Linked DNA regions of Homo sapiens: region 1 is linked to region 2. The links are contacts of gene promoters, found by promoter capture Hi-C in human tissues and cell types (Jung and others, 2019). All regions are on one chromosome and are shown on one strand. Each heading gives the region's core, a stretch centred on a gene start or on the middle of the fragment in contact. The rest is flanking DNA. Distances are from core to core; before and after follow the strand shown.

Region 1 (3,062 bases), core at 185-2,684, 130 kb after region 2:
CGCGGGAGCCACAGGGAGGTGGGAATGTGACTGCGCAGCCGGAGGCCTCGCCTCCCTGACGCTGTGGGGTCCACTGGGAAGGAAGTGGGGAGACGGGCATTACCTGGGTGACAGGCGGCCACTGTCGTTCTTGGGGACTGAGATGCTATGGCAGTGCACATATTTTTAAAAGATGACTACTAAATTTAAATAGTTTTAAATTATAGAGAAGTCGCAGGTCCCTGTTTGAGAATCATTGATCTAGCTGTGGTTCTCTGGTGGTTTGTGGAAGATGGCTTCTCTCTAGCTTGGTGTTACATGCTTACATGACCAGGTCCCTAGGGATAGGCCCACCCAGCCCCGCTTTATGAACTCAGAGGTGTCTGGCACGGTTCTGGCCCTGGGAGCCTCACCTCGGGAGTGAGATGTGTTAAGTCTGGGGTCAAGTTGCGGTTTTGCAAGATGGTTAAGAGTATCGTTTCTGGAACCAGAGCTTCGGTTCAAATCTCTGTTTTGCCACTAACTAGCTACGGAAACTTGAACAAATTACTTAATTCTTCCATGCTTCAGTTTCCCCATATGCAAAATGGGGAAGATAGTAGAGTCTTCCATTGGGGGTGGTGAGTTCTGAGGGCTAAGCCTTGTGGGGAGCTGCGCACAGGGCCTGGTGTGTAGTCAGTGTTCTGCAAATGTCAGTATCTCCCTTCCCTTTGCCAGGGTGTGTGAGTGTCTCTGTGTCCCTGTCTGTGTTTCTGGTGTTACTGTTGCCTTAGATTCTGACTGAATAACCTGGCTCGGTTATTGTGTGGGATTGTGTGGGAACCATACAGATTGTACAGGCATCTCCAAGGTAAAGAGTGGGCTGCGTATGTGGGGACTCACACAGGTGTTTTGAAAGGTATATCCTAAAATAGCCATCACCTTCATTTTTTTTTTAGATTGTATCAAAATTTCGAACAACATTAAGCAAAGATATGAGACTTTTATGTTTTTAAGAGAGGCCGCTCATTCAAAGCTTTTCTGATCCTGGAGGCCTCAGAGGCCGTCGTTGTGACACTCATTCTGTAGGTTCACTGTGTTCTTGAGTTCATGTCCATGAAGGTGCTGGTACCATTTTGTGCTTTTAACACCAATTCTCGGGGTGACAGAGAGATTCCACAGCCTTTTCCCCTTGCTCTCCTAGGTCACGGACCTCTTGGTGGATGAATCCAGTTTCACCGGGGAAGCCGAGCCATGTAGTAAAACAGACAGCCCCTTGACAGGCGGTGGGGACCTCACCACCCTCAGCAACATCGTCTTCATGGGGACCCTGGTGCAGTATGGGAGGGGCCAGGTAAGCCCTGGGACACCGAGGCCTTGGGCTCCCGTAACCCACAGGCTCCCAGCCCTTAGATTTCATACTTCTCTCTCTCCTGGACACAGGGGGTCGTGATTGGAACAGGGGAAAGCTCTCAGTTCGGAGAAGTGTTTAAGATGATGCAGGCTGAAGAGGTAAGGGGCAGGAGGGGGCTTCGGGACTTTTGTAAGCTGGAGTTTGAGATTATTATAGGCAAATAATACCAGCCTTGCCTACTCCTTAGGAATGAGTGGCATGTGGTTCATATGAGTATACTTTTTAAACATTTAATTTTTTTTTTTAATAGAGACAGGGTTTCGCCATGTTGCCCAGGCTGGTCTCAAACTCCTGAGCTCAAGCAATCTGTCTGCCTCAGCCTCCCAAAGTGCCAGGATTACAGGCATAAGCCACCACACCTGGCCTCTTTTCAAACACGTAAGACATTTGTTAGCATTTTGATAAAGATACAGCTTTCAGACAGTAATACGCACAGGTCTTCAGTGCAAAAGTCAATGAATGTTGACATATGTGTACCCCTGTGTAATCATCACTGAAGCTGTAGGATGGCAAGGTGAAGACATTTTGAACAAAGGCAGGCAGAAGCTAGGATCTTGTCCAACTAACCCATTGTGCTCACCCTTTCAGACACCTAAAACTCCTTTGCAGAAAAGCATGGACAGGCTAGGAAAGCAACTGACACTCTTCTCCTTTGGCATAATCGGTGAGTGAAGCAGTTTCCATACTGGGTTTGTTCTGCAGATGGAGGGGAGCCATCATAGGGGGGTTGCCATGGCCGTTTCTCAAATATCTTGCTACTCAGCTGCATAAGGCTTGGGGATTGGGATCAGAGGCTCTCCACAAGCAACAAGAGCTTTCTGTATAGTTGGACCAGGCTGGCTGCTGTAACAAGCAGCCACTACATTTTCTTGGCTTAACAGAGTAAACGCTTGTTCCTTGCTCACACCGCAGTCCAAAGTCCGTGGGTGTATTCCTGGTCCAGTGGCTCTCCTGGATAGCTCGCCTACAAACAGTGACTTGGGCCCAGGCCCCTGTTACATTGCTGCTCTATCTTCCTCTGGGTCCTTGGAGGCCATGTTTCTGTTCAGCCAGCAGATGGTGAAAGAGGAAACATGGAGGCTTGTGGAGGACATTTTTAAGGCATAGACCAGGAAGTGGAATCATCAATTTGACCATCTTTTATTGGCCAGAATGGAGTCACATGGCCTACATAACTGCAAAGGAGACTGGGAAATGTAGTTTATCTGTGCACCCAAACATATTTCTATGCTTCTAAGCAGGCTGTTCCTGGACTGGGACTTCCTGACCTTTGGTAACACAACAAACAGCATTGACATGATGCTGCGGTTCTGAATCTAGATCTTAAGGCTTGACATCCCCATAGTGCTGCCCCAGTCCCTTCTGGGGCTTCTTCCTGTTCTTTCCATATCTGGCCTTACTTCTGTGTCCTTTATTCCAGCCTTTAGGATCAACCCATGCCTGGCCCCTAATAGATTCTCAGTAAATATTTGTTGAGTAAAACATTTAATCAAGGAATAAACCAACAAGCCACTGCCTATAGCACATCTAGTGATGAGGGGGGTGCTGGTGAGTGTAGCCAAAACTGCGAAGCCAGAGAACAGTCTTGAGAGAAACAGCTTATGTAAGCCCATGTTTCTTAAGTTAAATTAGAACTTAAATTGACATGTCCACAGCAAGACCCATGATATCATTCAGACATTTTTTTTGA
Region 2 (2,842 bases), core at 16-2,515:
GAGGCTGAACTGGGATCAGGCAGGTGCGTCAAGCCTAGTGCTTGGGTCCCTTCTGCTTCGCCTAGGGGGGTGCCACAGGGTCTGACCTACCTGGGTTCCAGCCTCCTCTCTGCTGCTGTTGCATGACCTCAGGCAGCCCCCTCTGTTTCCTCATCTGTAAAGCGGGCATCAAAACAGTGTCTGTTTTGGGGCCGGGTGTGGTGGCTCACACACCTGTAATACCAGCACTTTGGGAGGCTGAGGCGGGCAGATCACTTAAGGTCAGGAGTTTGAGACCAGCCTGGCCAGCATGGTGAAACCCAGTCTCCACTAAAAATACAAAAATTAGCCAGGCATGGTGGCACATGCCTGTTATCCCAGCTACTTGGAAGGCCGAGACAGGAGAATCGCTTGAACCCGGGAGGCAGAGGTTGTAGTGATCTGTGATCACACCACTGCACTCCAGCGTGGGTGACAGAGCAAGACCCGTCTCGAAAAACAAAACAAAACAAAAAACCAGTATCTGTCTTGGAAGTGCTGAGAACAGACAAGGGAATATGAAGTTTGTGAAATGTTGAGCCCGCTGTGCTACATTCCTGTAAAACACACACGTGCACATGCACACCCACGTGCACACACGCATACACATAAATGCACATGTGCAGATACACCGGCTGACAGTGACAGCACACTTATGTGTGTGAAATGCTTTATGTGCTCAATTTCTTTTAAATCTCACAGGAAACACACGCTATGAGGAACTACCCACATGCCCACATCAGGCAGGAGGACCCCGGCGGGTGCAAGGGTGGAAGTCGTCTCTTCATGGCTGCACCCTTGGCCAGTGCCAGTCCAGCAGCCTCTTTCAAAGAAGCTTTTATAGGCAGATAGTTTGTCAGCCCAGCTCGAAATGTGAACAAGGTAGCAGCCGAGCCCCCACCCATCCGGCTGCACTCCCCTGCATGTCCAGCCCCGAGCCCTGTGTCAAGCACACCTCCTTGGGAGGAGACCGCCCCAGCCTGCAAGGAAGTGCTCATTATGGAGAGTGGAGAGTGACAGGCCACTCCCGGCCACGTCTCCAAGCAAGCCGGTGCCCCCTCCTCCTGCTGCCACCGCCCACTGAGCTGCCTGGGCTGCAGACGCCCTGGTTGGAGCGTCTGGGGCCAGATGTTATAGGGCAAGCTAAAAATAACCGGGCAGGCCAGCCACCATCGAGGAAGGGGCATGTGCTGGACGCGGACACATGATCCGAGGGACCCTGCTGGGTGGAACTAAGAAAGTCCAGCAGACTGTGCACGCTCCTGTCCCCACTCACAGGCCCACGCAGCGAGGGGGGCCCCTCTTCTGTGTGCGTCTGGAAGGTCGCTGCCCAGGGAGGAAATGCCTTTAACCGGCGTGGGGCCGGGCAGCTGCAGGAGGCAGATCATCCGGGCTCTGTGCCTCTTGCTACTTCTCCTCCACGCCGGCTCTGCCAAGAATATCTGGAAACGGGCATTGCCTGCGAGGCTGGCCGAGAAATCCCGTGTAAGTGCCTGGGATGGGGAGGCTGGGGCAGCCTGTGTGGGTGGGAGTCAGCCTTGAGGAGAGGCGATCCCTAGACACTGCCTTCTCCTGTAAGTGCTCCCCCAAAACGTGGCAAGGCAGGCGTCTTCCTATCCGTGTGTGTCTGAGTTGTGTGGTGGGCAGATGGGGCTCACCCCCAAAAAAGGACCCTTATCTGTGAATCAAGAGGCAAAAGACACATCACAAATGTGCCAAAGAATCGTGCCTTACTTTTGCCTTGTTACAAAAGTATGCTTGCTCCTGAAAGACAGCATCTCATTTCGGAACCCCAGGATTTAAACGGAGCATTCCGTCTCCCTGATCAGTACCAAATGTTTGTGAAATACACTTATGCATTCATGTGGTTGTTTATTCATTCAGCAAACAGAATGAATACACTCTGTTAAACAGAATTTAGCAGAAACCGCTCTGGGGAAGGCACTCTGTGGGGTCCTGTGGATACAAGATAAAGGAGGTACCAGCCCCCATCCTCAAGGGTGGCGTGGCCGAGGTGCAGAGGCAGTTGGGTGACAAACGATGGCAGTACAAAGAGAAGGCATGAGGCAGTGAGTGGCAAGAAACACATGCCCTGGGGCCAGATGTCTGGGTGTGAATCGGGCTCTGCTGCTCATTAGCTGCGTGGCTTCTCTCAGGCAAGCTGCTTGACGTCTCTGAACCCCAGCAATCTCATCTGCAAAAGACAGAGGGATGCATTTCTTCACACAACTATGTCTGGGTCGCCACTGTTTACCAGGTACTGTCCTAGGCTGTGGGGATACAGGCCTCACATCTCTGCCTGGGGAACTCAATGGGGGGCTGGGGGCAGCAAAGAATAAATGAGAGAGATCTCATTTATTAGTATGTGCAGATTGCAAGTGCTGAGGAAGCAATAAAGCAGGAAGGGAACTAGGAGAGAGAATGGGGTGGAGGAGGCTATCATTTTTGGTTCCTCCCACCCCCCAGAGATCACAGATCCGCAGGGACGGAGTGAGCCAGGACGATATCAGCACACAGAGGGCTCAAGAAGGTAATGCTGGCACCCACAGCACCTGTGTGAGGATTGAATGTCTCAGTATGTAGAACGTCTTTGCAACATAGCAAGCTGGCAGTGCATCTTGGCAGCTTTCAATCAAATAATTGTGACTTTGTTTGGTGTTGCCTAACAGGGTAGCATGTAGGTTCCTTGGGGTAGGGCAGGGTTCTGTTTCACTAATGTGTGCCCCTGGTGCCTGCCATTAAGTTGACGCCTGGTACATTCTTGTGGGTGAATTATGAGCGGCTGCAGTGGTAGCACGGGATGCGTGTGCAGCTCTTCCCCAGG

The links. Contacts are between HindIII fragments. The study calls those that stand out against the background at their distance.
Region 1: a contact is called between a fragment that was not itself captured here and the fragment with the promoter of WFDC1 in region 2, in 3 of the 25 tissues and cell types used here (dorsolateral prefrontal cortex, mesendoderm cells and spleen).

Annotation. Positions count from the first base shown.
Region 1 is chr16:84,421,228-84,424,289 of GRCh38, forward strand. It overlaps ATP2C2 (ATPase secretory pathway Ca2+ transporting 2), which reads left to right. Exons shown (of 27, transcript NM_014861.4): 8 at 1,163-1,312; 9 at 1,402-1,470; 10 at 1,961-2,036. Among named protein-coding and RNA genes, the nearest start is that of ATP2C2-AS1, 45 kb to the right of the region's middle. The HindIII fragment of the contact is 6,725 bases long and covers 1-3,062 here.
Region 2 is chr16:84,293,613-84,296,454 of GRCh38, forward strand. It overlaps WFDC1 (WAP four-disulfide core domain 1), which reads left to right and starts at 1,266. Exons shown (of 7, transcript NM_021197.4): 1 at 1,266-1,503. The coding sequence starts at 1,360. LOC124903734 reads left to right here. Exons shown (of 6, transcript XM_047435022.1): 5 at 1-23; 6 at 721-1,226. The coding sequence ends at 1,226. The HindIII fragment of the contact is 18,601 bases long and covers 1-2,842 here.